Regions from separate parts of the Homo sapiens genome. Here regions 1, 2, 4 and 5 are each linked to region 3. The links are contacts of gene promoters, found by promoter capture Hi-C in human tissues and cell types (Jung and others, 2019). All regions are on one chromosome and are shown on one strand. The core of a region is centred on a gene start or on the middle of the fragment in contact, and the rest is flanking DNA. Distances in the headings are between cores, read along the strand shown. Region 1 overlaps HNRNPR (heterogeneous nuclear ribonucleoprotein R). Region 2 overlaps HNRNPR (heterogeneous nuclear ribonucleoprotein R). Region 3 holds the start of ASAP3 (ArfGAP with SH3 domain, ankyrin repeat and PH domain 3). Region 4 has its middle 24 kb from the start of HTR1D. Region 5 has its middle 10 kb from the start of RPL11.

The links. The method cuts DNA at HindIII sites, captures the fragments that hold promoters and counts their contacts. A contact is called where the count stands out against the background at its distance.
Region 1: a fragment that was not itself captured here is called in contact with the fragment with the promoter of ASAP3 in region 3 in 1 of the 25 tissues and cell types used here (adrenal gland).
Region 2: a contact is called between a fragment that was not itself captured here and the fragment with the promoter of ASAP3 in region 3, in 2 of the 25 tissues and cell types used here (liver and pancreas).
Region 4: a contact is called between a fragment that was not itself captured here and the fragment with the promoter of ASAP3 in region 3, in 1 of the 25 tissues and cell types used here (IMR-90 fibroblasts).
Region 5: a fragment that was not itself captured here is called in contact with the fragment with the promoter of ASAP3 in region 3 in 2 of the 25 tissues and cell types used here (H1 embryonic stem cells and heart right ventricle).

The regions. Positions count from the first base shown.
Region 1 is chr1:23,304,547-23,307,246 of GRCh38, reverse strand. HNRNPR (heterogeneous nuclear ribonucleoprotein R) reads left to right here. Exons shown (of 11, transcript NM_005826.5): 11 at 1-2,559. Among named protein-coding and RNA genes, the nearest start is that of LINC01355, 20 kb to the right of the region's middle. The HindIII fragment of the contact is 4,009 bases long and covers 1-2,700 here.
Region 2 is chr1:23,334,198-23,336,897 of GRCh38, reverse strand. The region is part of intron 4 of HNRNPR (heterogeneous nuclear ribonucleoprotein R); the gene reads left to right. Among named protein-coding and RNA genes, the nearest start is that of HNRNPR, 8.7 kb to the left of the region's middle. The HindIII fragment of the contact is 4,351 bases long and covers 1-2,700 here.
Region 3 is chr1:23,482,790-23,485,489 of GRCh38, reverse strand. It overlaps ASAP3 (ArfGAP with SH3 domain, ankyrin repeat and PH domain 3), which reads left to right and starts at 1,311. Exons shown (of 25, transcript NM_017707.4): 1 at 1,311-1,485. The coding sequence starts at 1,357. RefSeq lists an enhancer at 447-546 and silencers at 737-786, 797-906, 1,027-1,476. The HindIII fragment of the contact is 29,915 bases long and covers 1-2,700 here.
Region 4 is chr1:23,240,627-23,243,326 of GRCh38, reverse strand. No RefSeq gene overlaps it. Among named protein-coding and RNA genes, the nearest start is that of HTR1D, 24 kb to the right of the region's middle. RefSeq lists a silencer at 645-845. The HindIII fragment of the contact is 4,016 bases long and covers 1-2,700 here.
Region 5 is chr1:23,680,328-23,683,030 of GRCh38, reverse strand. No RefSeq gene overlaps it. Among named protein-coding and RNA genes, the nearest start is that of RPL11, 10 kb to the left of the region's middle. The HindIII fragment of the contact is 6,026 bases long and covers 1-2,703 here.

The DNA.
Region 1 (2,700 bases), core at 111-2,610, 180 kb after region 3:
TAATCATACCTACGTTTTATTAATTGTGCATTTGTAAAACCAAACCCTTCCAGTAAATACTTGCTATAAGGCTATTGCTTGTCAATTATCAAGGCTTCTAAATATGTTAAAACTTGTCATTTTGATTTTTCAAAGATAATTTTATTATACTGAGCTACCAATATTCTTAAAGAAAACTAACCAAAGTTAATATTAGTGTAGTCCATTATTATGTGGACAATTATTATGTGGAATCTCTTAAGTGAGCAACTAAGAAAAAGCCTTATAGAAAGACTACACTGGATTTATAAGTGTGTTTATGTTTCTCTAAGAATGGGAGCTTCTGTTAACTTAGGGGTGGAGTTGTTCTGAGGAAACCAGTAGATTGGATGACTGACTGGAGAATCCAGAATAACAAATCCATTAGCCAGACATGTTTACTTTTATATTAGAAGTTTGTTGATTAGGTCTTAATTTTCAAACGCAAACACCAAGCTTTAAAAATATTGCATATACAATGTATTGGTCAGCAATTTAATAATATTTAATTTGAAGTTAATTATTGTTAATCCTTCTAGAAAAGTTTTTTTTCTTTAAATAAAAGTACATATATATACTTTTTTATTTAGAGGTTACCAGAAGCTCTGGTTTTGTTTTGTTTTGTTTTGTTTTTTTGTTTTTTTAATCATTTTCAGATGTTATCCAGAAATCTGCAAGTGTACTTTTCCTGTTTTAACTCCTTCCTTTTATCACCTGACTATCAGGGAAGCGAGGTTGAGGCTGCCCTGACCTGACATGTCATGATGTCGACTTGCTAGGTGGGGTTCGCTGGGGACGATAACCAGTGGAATTGTTGGTAAGAACTTTTTTTTCCTATTTTTTTTTTTATCAGTAGTGGGGCATTAAGTGTGGGAGAATGCCCATATCCTATAAGTGGGCAATTATGTCAGCCTTGTAGAAAAATAGGACTTTAATATTAAATTATTTTGTTCTTAATAGGAACATATAATAACACTTCACTTACTTTTAAATTGGTAGCAGATCAGCAGGAAAGGCCTGCAAGTATGAAGTAATGAAATACTCAGGGTATATTTTAAGTGAGCAAAATAGACACCTTATAATCTTAAAAAGTCTCTTGGAGAGACAATAAATTTGCTTTAACTGTCATTTCAGTCTAGTATTATATTTTCTATATTTTGTTGGATAGATTAACATATAATGCATCTTAAAGAGATATTTATTGCACACTAATTTTAGTGAAAACAAGAAGACATTGATAGAATGGAGGGCTTAAACACCAAAGATACTATTTTTAAAAATCTTCCAAAGTAATCTTAACACTGTAAAATGAAACTTTAAAAAGTTTTAGCAGTTTGACAATAATGGCCTCAATTTAGAGATATGTTGAGACAATGACTTTGGGTCAAGAGGAAATTACATAGCTGAAATATTAAGACCTTGAACATAGCAGAAACATAAACCTATGAACAACTTGTGTTTTGTGTGAAAGCTAGGGTAGCTGATAGGATTAGCAGATATTGGTAGAATTAAGAGTCAATATTTAAATTATTGCTAAAGATTAAAATCCCTCATCTTATAGTTTGTAGGGGATTCCATGATGGTAAGGTATAGATTGAAATTAAATTTAGTAACTAGGCATTTCTGACCATACCATATAAAAAATAATTGTAATATGGTATAAACACTGATTAAAAGTAATTATGGATTTTCATGCCTGAAGAACCTTCTCAGTATTCTTACAGCACTGTATCTTCTTTATTGGTTGAGAATATCAGTCTAGAAAGACTTTCCTAGATGTTAAATGTGCTAGTCAGTGTCATGAATATAAACCCTTACTTGTAAGTTTGCTATAGACTAGTTGTACAACACTAGAATGAAATTATGTAATACTTTTAAGAATTGTAGTGATTGCAGGGTTGTGTTAAGGTAACATTTTATGCATGTGTCAGTGACAGAAAGGATCAGGGTATAAAACTTAGCACTAAATAGCATGCTCCTTAGGAAGTTTTAAGGTAAGCAGTAGGAATATTCATGTAATTCTGATGAGTTTATGTAAGTTAAGGAAAATGCAATGCCAGTTTGTTGACTTTAAACACTAAAAACAAAATACATTTTGTGGAACCAACAAAGGAGACATTCTGGGGAAAAACTTAAATTGCTCAAATTTAAATAAGGGCTCTCACTTTATATAGTAGATTTGTCAGGATCCCATGAACATTGCTTTTCTTGATTTCTCACATATGAGGGTTGGGCAAAAGGGACTTCTCTAGCCTCTTCGATAATGTAGGTAGACTTGTACTTAGTGAATCCCATTATAATGTTAGGTACTATGTTCTAAGACTATTTCTATAATTGGACTGAAGGCTCCTGCAAACATAAATTGCTGATATGGATATAGTAACATAAGAAATACCAAAATAGGGACATTTGCAAGACCTTTTCCATTTAATCATCAGTTTAATAAAAATCATGCTTTTGGTACAGTGTTCATGTACCATAACTGTATTGGAATATTTGTACGATGTTAAATATTTTTAATAAAATTTAACATGTTCAAAATGTTGTGTTGGTGATTTTGGGTGGGGTGTGATGGGTTTGATTGTGCAAAACAGATTTAGTAGTTATGTGATTTAGGCTTTTGTAGTTAAATGGAGTTTCTGTCTTCAAATTTAGTACTAGATACTGTACCTGTTCTAAGGA
Region 2 (2,700 bases), core at 87-2,586, 150 kb after region 3:
ACTTAGATAAACAGCTTTGAAAAGGTAAATATACAGCTTTTAATGAAAGACCAGTGAACCTAATTCCTTAGTTAAATGGATACTCGTGTCTTGCTGTAGTGACATACTTTTCTTTTTTTTTTTTTTTTTTGAGACAGAGTCTCACTCTGTGGCCCAGGCTGGAGTGCTGGAGTGCAGTAGCGCCATCTCAGCTCATCTCAGCTCACTTCAACCTCTGTCTCCTGGGTTCAAGCGATTCTCCTGCCTCAGCCTCCTGAGTAGCTGGGACTACAGGCGTGCGCCACCACATCCAGCTAATTTTTTTTTTTTTTTTTTTTTTTTTTTTTGAGACGGAGTCTCCCTCTGTCGCCCAGGCTGGAGTGCAGTGGCGCGATCTCAGCTCATTGCAAGGTCTGCCTCCTGGGTTCACGCCATTCTCCTGCCTCAGCCTCCTGAGCAGCTGGGACCACAGGTGCCTGCTACCATGCCCGGCTAATTTTTTTTTTCTTGTATTTTTAGTAGAGACAGGGTTTCACTATGTTAGCCAGGATGGTCTCAATCTCCTGACCTCATGATCCGCCCGCCTCGGCCTCCCAAAGTGCTGGGATTACAGGCGTGAGCCACCGTGCCTGGCTGCTAATTTTTTTTGTTTTTTGGTAGAGTCGGGGTTTCACTGTGTTAGCCAGGCTGGTCTCAAACTCCTGACCTTGGGGGATCTGCCTACCTCACCCTCCCCAAAGTGCTGGGATTACAGGTGTGAGCCACCATATCCGGCCTGTGATAGACTTTTTTTTTTTTTTTTGAGACGGAGTCTCGCTCTGTCGCCCAGGCTGGAGTGCAGTGGCGGGATCTCGGCTCACTGCAAGCTCCGCCTCCCGGGTTCACGCCATTCTCCTCCCTCAGCCTCCCGAGTAGCTGGGACTACAGGCGCCCGCCACTACGCCCGGCTAATTTTTTGTATTTTTAGTAGAGACGGGGTTTCACCATTTTAGCCGGGATGGTCTCGATCTCCTGACCTCGTGATCCGCCCGCCTCAGCCTCCCAAAGTGCTGGGATTACAGGCGTGAGCCACCGCGCCCGGCTGTGATAGACTTTTTAATTAGAAATAGTTATTGTATGTTGAAGTTATTTCTATTATTATTACATTGTAATATGTAATGAAATAATTATACAACTCACCATAATGTAGAATCAGTGGGATCCCTGAGCTTGTTTTCCTGCAACTAGATGGTGCCATCTGGGCATACTGGTAGATGGTGACAGATCTTCAAGCATTAGATTCTCATAAGGAGCATGCAACCTAGATCCCTTGTATGCACACTTCACAATAGGATTCACCCTCCTGTGAGAACCTAATGCGGCTGCTGATCTGACAGGAGGTGGAGCTCACAGCTCAGGCAGTAATGCCAATGATAGGGAGGATGAGGAGCGGCTGTAAATACAGATGAAGCTTTGTTCTCACTTGCCCGCTATTTACCTCCTGCTATGCAGCCCGGTTCCTAACAGGCCATGGACCAGTACGGGTCTGTGGCCCAGGGGTGTGGGGACCCCTGTTTTATATTACATTTATGGCTCTGTTTCAGTCAAAGGTAGAAGAATGGAAGGCCGAAGGCATGCATCCCTGTGAAATCCTAGTGTTCACTGAACTTGATGATATCTAAAGTCTCTTATTGTTCTGACATTGTGTAATTTTAAAAACCTGGCTGGGCTCTGTGGCTCACGCCTGTAATCCCAGCACTTTGGGAGGCTGAGGCGGGTGGATCACGAGGTCAGGAGATCGAGACCATCCTGGCTAACAACGGTGAGGCCACCTGTCTACTAAAAATACAAAAAATTAGCCGGGTGTGGTGGCAGGCGCCTGTAGTCCCAGCTACTTGGGAGGCTGAGGCAGGAGAATGGCGTGAACCCGGGAGGCGGAGCTTGCAGTGAGCCAAGATCGCGCCACTGCACTCCAGCCTGAGCGACAGAGCGAGACTCCGTCTCAAAAAAAAAAAACCAAAAAAACTGAAGTGTAAATTTCTCTTTTCTAGGTAGATTGTGTTTCTTTGTTTACCATTGTATCTTTTCTTCTCTAAGCTCTTTATATAGATGTTGCCTCAATTATAACATAAATTCCTGAGAGCAAGGAGATTATCTTCTTTTCTATGATTGCTCTTAATACCTAATAGAATGTAAGGAAGGTTGGTAATCAGGAAACACAAGATTTTACTTATTTTTCGGAACCTGACTATACTTATTTGGTAATTGCCAAATATTTTTAGTCTGTACTGTATGATTCTTGTCTGATTACCTGATTCTTGTGGAGCTTATGATATGGCAGGAGTACAAACCAGAAGGATCAAACAAAATCAAGCTTAAATGATGGAACTTTAAGTACACTAGAGGCTGGGTATGGTGGCTCATTCCTGTAATCCCAGCACTTTGGGAGGCCAAGTCGGGTGGATCACGAGATCAGGAGATTGAGACCATCCTGGCTAACACGGTGAAACCCTGTCTTTACTAAAAATACAAAAAATTAGCCGGGCGTTGTGGCGGGTGCCTGTAGTCCCAGCTGCTCGGGAGGCTGAGGCAGGAAAAGGGCGTGAACCTGGGAGGCGGAGCTTGCAGTGAGCCGAGATCGCGCTACTGCACTCCAGCCTGGGTGACACAGCGAGACTCCGTCTCAAAAAAAAAAAAAAAAAAAAGTACACTAGAAAGACAGTGGGGGCTGGGCACAGTGGC
Region 3 (2,700 bases), core at 62-2,561:
CACCAAAAGAAAAGAAAGTTACTCATAATGTCTTCAGCTAGTGCATATCTGTCTTCAGCTAGTGCATAAAATGTTGCTGGTGCAACATTTTAGTGCATATCTTTCCGGATTTTTTCTTTTCTTTTCTTTTCTGTGCGAGAAAAGAAAAGATTCTCTCAATCGCCGCCCTGTGGGGTAAAATACCATGAGGCCATTTTAAGAGGGGGAAATGCAGGCTTAGAGAAGCAAGCAATTTATCCAAAGTAACCAAGATTGGAATCTAGGTTCCTCTGACTCCAAAACCAATGTTCCTTGCTGCGGTGCTTTCCTAGCTTTTTACTTGGAGAACTTTTCCCCAGAGGACCTCAGGCTTCAGAACTAAACCTAAGTGGATTTCTATCCTGAACCCCATCCCTCATCCGCCCCAAAGGATGGTGAGCCAGATTAAGGGGTGAAAGGCAGGAGCAGGAAGAGTAAAGGCGTGGGTGCGATCTATGGTCGGGTAAGAGGGAACTAGTACACGCACGTGTTCGGTTCTTCGCAACATCACAATCAAGCGGGCATCAGGCTTCCCATTGTACAGATAAGGAAACTGAGGTTCCAGAAGAGAAGTAATTTTCCCCAAGTCACACAGCTAGCCAGGGGCCCCGATCCACACATCCCCGGGGCGGCGGGGGTTATCAGGAGGGAGTCTCCGGATGCCTGCAAAGCTGAGGCTGAGAGCTGGGCGTACGCAGCAAAGGAGGGGTGGGGCGATTCGGGGCGGAGCGAGGCAAGGAGATTGGGCGGGACTGGGGAGAGAGGAGGGAAGGGTGGCGGGGGGGTGGTAGGGCAGAAGGGGCGAGGTCATGGGGAACTCGGAACGAATCAGCAGAGGAGGGAGGAAGAGGGAGGGGGCTCTAAGACTCGACGCGGAGATGGAACAGCCTGGGCCGTGCAAGGGAGGAGGATTTGGAAGACCCAGAGCGGGATGAAACGGGACAGAGCCCTGAAGGGGCAGGGATGGGGGAAGGCGGAGGAGTTTCTACTGAGGCCAGGGGTGGGGCATCGCGCCAGGGGGCGGGGTCTGAGGCGGTGAGGGGCTGGGGGCGTGGCCTAGGGGGCCGGCGAGGGGCCGGGGAAGCGGCCTGACGCGGTGCGGGGCCGGGACCGGGGCCGGAGCCTGGACCTTGGCGGTGGAGGAAGGCGAGGAGCCGGGGGCGGGGCCGTCCCAGCTGAGGAGCGGAGAGCGGCTGGAGGGTCGGGGGCGGGGCGTGCGGAGGGGCGGGGCGTGTGGAGGCCGGGACGGCGCCCCCGGCCGGCGGTGAGGCCGGCTCAGCGCGGAGCAGCTCAGTGCCCCCCGCGCCCCGCTCCGGCAGCTCCACGCTCGCGCCCGCCATGCCGGAGCAGTTCAGCGTCGCCGAGTTCCTGGCCGTCACCGCGGAGGACCTCAGCTCCCCGGCTGGGGCCGCCGCCTTCGCCGCCAAGATGCCCCGGTACCGAGGGGCGGCGCTGGCGCGGGAGGAGGTGAGGGGGCCGAGGCGGGAGGGGTCGGGGGTCGGCGCCGGGCCTGGCCTTGACCTCCACAGGCGTGTCGCACCCGAGCTGCGATGGCCCTTCACCGCGCCCCGAAACCTGCCCCCTCCCTAGGTCTGGGAGGACCGAGCGCATCTCCAACAGCTGCGTCCTCACCGTCGAGGCGGGGGAAGGCCCGAGGGACCGTTTTGGGGGGCCTCGAGGTCTCTTCGATGACAAACTCCACAGGTCGGGGGACGTACCCCAAGTGCCCCGCGTGACCGCCTCATCACATATGTGTTTGCCTAGCGCCTTCCAGCCTCAGTTTGCGTTTTCATCTTCGGAGCCCCACAAGTGTGCCCCCCGAGTCACTCCCCTTCTGAGAGGCAGGCTTCCCGCCTCAGTCCTGAACTTTCTTCCCCCCGGCTGCAGAGAGGCCCCCTCCCGCTTGCGGCTGGTTCGGAGATTTGGCCCGCGTTTGTGGAATGAATGCGGATGGGAAGGCGCCAGGAGCCGGGGTTCACCTTGGCCGGGCTGTTGGCAAGTTTATCGTCTCCTCTCCCCTCCCCTCTCCTCTTTGTCTTTCCCAGCAAAGCGTCCCAGGCCTTTTCTTTCGGTCTTGCAGGCTGCCCCACCCCATTCCCATGCTCTTCGGAGTTCCTTCCATTCCTCTTCTCTGAACCTGCTGCAGCTTTCCGCAGCTCCTCTGCAAAGAATATTCTAGGACAGACACCCCGTGGCCTTGGTCCAACGGAGAATAATGTGTTTTTGCAGCTCCCCATCCAAAGGATGCCCTCAATTTGGGTGGCATTTTGGACCTCAGCAACGGCTCTAGCCTTCCACCCTTCACCTTAAGTGTACTAGGCACCCACTGCGTGGCAGATACAAAGCTCAGTAGTTCATAACACCCTGCGCCAGTGTCAGGAAATCTGTCCTCTTCTCTCTTGTCAGGGTGACCCTCCATCTCGGAGTCTGTTTGTATCACTTTGTAAGGGTGATAGAGGATTGTGGAAGGAGCATCGACTTTGGGGAAGGCAGACCTTTTTTCTTTCCTTTTTTTTTTTTGAGACGGAGTCTCGCTGTGTCGCCCAGGCTGGAGTGCAGTGACGCGATCTTGGCTCAATGCAAACTCCGCCTCCCAGGTTCACACCATTCTCCTGCCTCAGCCTCCCGAGTAGCTGGGACTACAGGCTCCCGCCACTACGCCTGGCTAATTTTTTTTTTGTA
Region 4 (2,700 bases), core at 134-2,633, 240 kb after region 3:
AGCCACCGTTCCTGGCTAATTTTTGAAGTTTTTTGTAGAGATGAGATCTCACTATGTTGCCCAGGCTTGTCTTGAACTCCTGGCCTCAAGCATCCTCCCACCTTGGCCTCCCAAAGTGCTGGGGTTACAGGTGTGGGCCGCTGCACCTGCCCATTCTTCTTTTTTTTTTAATGCCTAAACAAAGATATGTGCGTGTATGTGTGTATAGTGTTAGGATGTTTGTTCCTTTCTTTTGCTTTCTTTCCTTTTTCTACAAAAAGAATCATTCTATACTGTTCTGGAATATACTTTTTTCATTTAACAATACATAGCAGACAGCTTTCCAATATATTTAGATATATTAATTAATCTACAATTATATTAAGTAATTCACATGATTCAAAACTCCAGAGGTACACAAGAATATTCAAAAATGAGCCTCCCTCTCACCCCTACCCCAGGTACCCGGTTATCTCCCCAAAAGCTTCCAGTGTTACCTTTCTTGTGCATCCTTCCAGGGCTGCATTAAGCATGGATAAGCAATTATGTATATGCATTGCCCCCCATCCCCAGTTTTACATAACAGGATATACTGTATATCTTGTACATATAATACTGTTCTGCGCCTTGCTTTTTTTTTTTTTTTTTTTTTTTTTTCGGGACAGGCTCTTAAAGGCTCATGATTGTGCCACTGCACTCTAGGCCCAGACTTAGAGTGCAGTGACACAATCATGACTCACTGCAGCCTCGACTTCCTGGGTTCAAGCAGTTCTCCCGCCTCAGCCTCCCAAGTAGTTGGGACCACAGGCGTGTGCCATCACACTCAGCTACTTTTTGTAAGTTTTTTGGAGAGATGGGATTTCGCCATGTTGCCCAGGCTGGTCTCAAACCCCTAGGCTCAAAGGATTCGACCACTTTGCACACCCAAATTGCTGGGATTACAGGCATGAGCCACCGCACCCAGCCTGCACCTTGCTTTTTTCACTATAATACCATGTCCTAGCGGTCATTCATATTCATATGCAATATTTCATTCTTTTTAGTAGCTAGTAACATCCTATGTGAGATATGTAGACTCATTCATGCAGCTTTCTCTCACTGGTGGCCTTGTAGCTTGGGTCCAGTTTTTTTGCTTGTTGCGGTTATGAGTGCTTCAGTGAATCTCCTTGCACACATATCGTTAATAAAAGCACTCATAGTTTTATTTCCTAGAAGTGGAATTGCTGTGTCAAAAAGTATGCATTTTAATTTTTAATAATTTAGTTATGTATGCATGTTTTAAATTTTAATAAATAATGTCAGATGATTTTCTCAAAGGTTGTAGCAAGCTTTAAAGCATGAGTTTATGATCTGAATTGTATTTCAGTTTTTAAAAAAGAGCGATTTTTAAAAAATATTAGCTGGGTGTGTAGTGCATGCCCGTAGTCCCAGCTACTCAAGAGGCTGAGGTGGGAGCCCAGGGGTTTGAGGCTGCAGTGCACTTTGATGGTGCCTGTGAGTAGCCACTGTATTTTATGCTGGGCAACATAGGGAGGCCCCGTCTCTAAAAAAAAAAAAGGGTAGCGATTTGTGGCTCATTAACACTTCCCCATATATTACTAATTGTTTAAATTGTTGTCAATATTGTAAGAGAAAAATAGTATCTTCTGGTTGTAAATGTGTATTCCCTGACCTCCCTGTGAGGGTGAGCACGATCTCCTAAGTGTTTTGGCCACTTGCAGTCAACTGCTATGAATTCTCTGTGTCCTTTGCCCATTTTTCTTTTTCTTTTCTTTTTTTTTTTTTTTGAGACGGAGTCTCGATATGTCGCCCAGGCTGGAGTGCAGTGGTGTGATCTCGGCTCACTGCAAGCTCCGCCTTCCGGGATCACGCCATTTTCCTGCCTCAGCCTCCCGAGCAACTGGGACTACAGGCGCCCTCCACCGCGCCCAGCTAATTTTTTTTTTTTTTGTATTTTTAGTAGAAACGGGGTTTCACCGTGGTCTCGATCTCCTGACCTCGTGATCCGTGAGCCACCGCACCCGGGCATTTGCCCATTTTTCTAGTGGGTTCTTTGTCTTCTTCCTATGAACTGTTTTTTTTTTTTTTTTTTTTTTTGAGATGGAATCTCCCTCTGTCTCCCAGGCTAGAGTGCAGTGGCATGATCTCAGCTTACTGCACCCTCTGCCCCCCCGGGATTCAAGCGATTCTCGTGCCTCAGCCTCCCAAGTAGTTGGGATTACAGGCATGTGCCACCATGCCCAGCTAATTTTTGTGGGGTTTTTTTGCTTGTTTGTTTTTTGAGACGGAGTCTCGCTCTGTCACCCAGGCTGGAGTGCAGTGGCGCAATCTCCGCTCACGGCAACCTCCACCTCCCAGGTTCAAGTGATTCTCCTGCCTCAGCTTCCCAAGTAGCTGAGATTACAGGCACCCACCATCACGCCTGGCTAATTTTTGTATTTTTAGTAGAGACAGGGTTTCACCACGTTGGCCAGGCTGGTCTCAAACTCCTGACCTCAGGTGATCCGCCTGCCTCGGCCTCCCAAAGTGCTGGGATTACAGGCGTGAGCCACCTCGCCCAGCTCCTATGCACTTCTTAGGATAATTCTTTGTATGAACCCTTTGTTTTTGTTTTGTTTTTGTTTTGTTTTGTTTTTTGAGACGGAGTCTCGCTCTGTCCCCCAGGCTGGAGTGCAGTGGTGCGATCTTCGCTCACTGCAAGCTCCGCCTCCCGGGTTCACG
Region 5 (2,703 bases), core at 47-2,546, 200 kb before region 3:
CATAGCATTTTTGCCTTTCCCAGAGGGTTGACCTCAATTGTCCTACACATTTCTTCTGAAGCACATATACCCTTTCCCTATGGTATATGAGCCCTGGGTCTTGGGGGTAATAGTACGGGGACCCACTGTCTCACGGCTGCCTGAGACATGACTTCTCTTCTAAGTGTCTTACATGTTTCTTTCTGAGAAACTAGATTTGTCATCCTCTTTCTTCAGCCCATCAGCTCCCTTGGCCTTTGGGGGTAGGTTTGGATATACCTTCTCACCGCAGAACATGGTGAAGTTAAGTTTTAGGGAATCTGCTGAGCATAGTGGCACACATTTATAATTCCAGTGGTGGAAGAGGCTAAGGCAGGAGGATCCTTTGAGCCCAGGAGTTTGAGACTGCAATGAGCTATGATCCAACCACTGCACCCTAGCTTGGGTGACACAGCCAGACCATACCCGGCCCCCTCTCAATCAATCAATCAATAAAGGACTTGGGGAATCTGGGTGAAAGATATATGGGACTTCTTGCAACTTCTATGTAACTTAAAGGGAAACAGGTACCTGGGGAGATATAAAATTGAACTCATTCTCAAAAGCTCAATCCCCACCCCAACTCCACCTTTTCTTCAAACAAACTTCCCAGAATAGCTCTTAAGTGGCTGTATTACCCATACTGTGATAATGAGGGTGGCTGATTAATAACTAATTTACTGTCCCCACCAGGCACCAGCTCACTCAACCTTCAGCATCCCTGTGGAGGCAGATACTATTGCTTTCCCATTTTACAGATGAGCAGACAAACACATAGAAGTTTAGTAACTTTTTTTTCTTTTTTTCGAGATGGAGGAGTTTCACTCTGTCACCTAGGCTGGAGTGGAATGGCATGATGTCTCGGCTCATTGCAACCTCCATCTCCTGGGTTCAAGCAATTCTCCTGCCTCAGCCTCCCAAGTAGCTGGGATTACAGGTGCCCGCCACCACGTCTGGCTAATTTTTGTATTTTTGGTAGAGACAGGGTTTCGCCATGTTGGCCAGGGTGGTCTTGAACTCCTGGCCTCAGGTGATCTACCCGCCTCAGACTCCCAAAGTGCTGGGATTACAGGTGTGAGCCACCGTGTCCAGCCGTGTCCAGCTTTTTTTTTTTTTCTTTTTTTAGACACAGTCTTGCTCTGTCACCCAGGTTGGAGTGCAGTGGTGTGATCTCAGCTCACTGCAACCTCTGCCTCCCGGGTTCAATCAATTCTTGTGCCTCAGCCTCCTGAGTAGCTGGGACTACAGGCATGCACCACCATGCCTAGCTAATTTTTGTATTTTAGTAGAGATGGTGTTTTGCCATGTTGGCTAGGATGGTCTCAAACTCCTGACTTCAAGTGATCTGCCCTCCTCAGCCTCCCAAAGTGCTGGGATTACAGGCATACGCCACTGCACCTGGCCCTTTTTTTTTTTTTCTTTTCTTTTTTTCACTCAGTTGCCCAGGCTGGAGTGCAGAGGCACGATCTCAGCTCACTGCAGCCTCGACCTCCTGGGCTCAAGTGATCCTACCACCTCAACCTCCCAAGTAGCTGGGACCACAGGTATGCACCATCACACCTGGCCAATTTTTTTGTATTTTTTGTAGAGATGAGGTCTCACTATACTGCCCAGGCTAGTCTTGAACTCCTGAGCTCAAGTGATCCACCCACCTCGGCCTCCCAAAGTGCTGGGATTATAGGCATGCACCACCACTCCTGGTCTAGTAACTTTTAAGACAGTAATGAAATCAGGCAGTCTAATACCAGCGTCCCGTCCTATTTTAGAAGCCGACAGACCAGGCTAGGGCCCAGACCTTCCCCTCAGTTTTCCCTCCATGCGTTTTCTTCTTTACAAGCCCAGCTGTCTGGCTCTTGCATCTGGACTCCCAGTAACCCACCTGCCTCCTCACTGCTTGAGACAGAGGTCAGTAGAGGCAGAGGCAAAAAGACTTGCTTTGCTTTATCCAACGCCTCAAGCTCATCAGCAGAGAGAAAACCATATTAGCAGGATCAGGATTAAGATAGTTCAGACAGCCGGGCGCAGTGGTTTACACCTGTAATCTCAGCACTTTGAAAGGCCAAGACGGGCGGATGAGGTCAGGAGTTTGAGACCAGCCTGGCCAACAGGGTGAAACCCTGTCTCTATGAAAAATACTCAAATTAGCCAGGCGTGGTGTTGGGAGCCTGTAATCCCAGCTACTGGGGAGGCTGAGGCAGGAGAATTGTTTGAACTTGGGAAGTGGAGGTGGCAGTGAGCCAAGATCGCATCATTGCACTCCAGCCTGGGAGAAGAGCAAGACTCTGTCTCAAAAAAGAAAAGACAGGGCCGGGCGTGGTGGCTCACGCCTGTAATCCCAGCACTTTGGGAGGCCAAGTTGGGTGGATCACAAGGTCAGGAGATCGAGACCATCCTGGCTAACACGGTGAAACCCCATCTCTACTAAAAATACAAAAAAAATAGCCGGGCGTGGTGGCGGGCGCCTGTAGTCCCAGCTACTTGGGAGGCTGAGGCAGGAAAATGGCGTGAACCCAGGAGGCAGAGCTTGCAGTGAGCTGAGATCGCGCCATTACACTCCAACCTGGGCAACAGAGCCAGACTCCATCTCAAAAAAAAAAAGAAAAAAGAAAAAAGAAAAAGAAAAAGAAAAGAAAAGACAGTTTAGGCAAGAGAACAAGTCCAAGGCTTCTCCTTGAGCCACTCTTC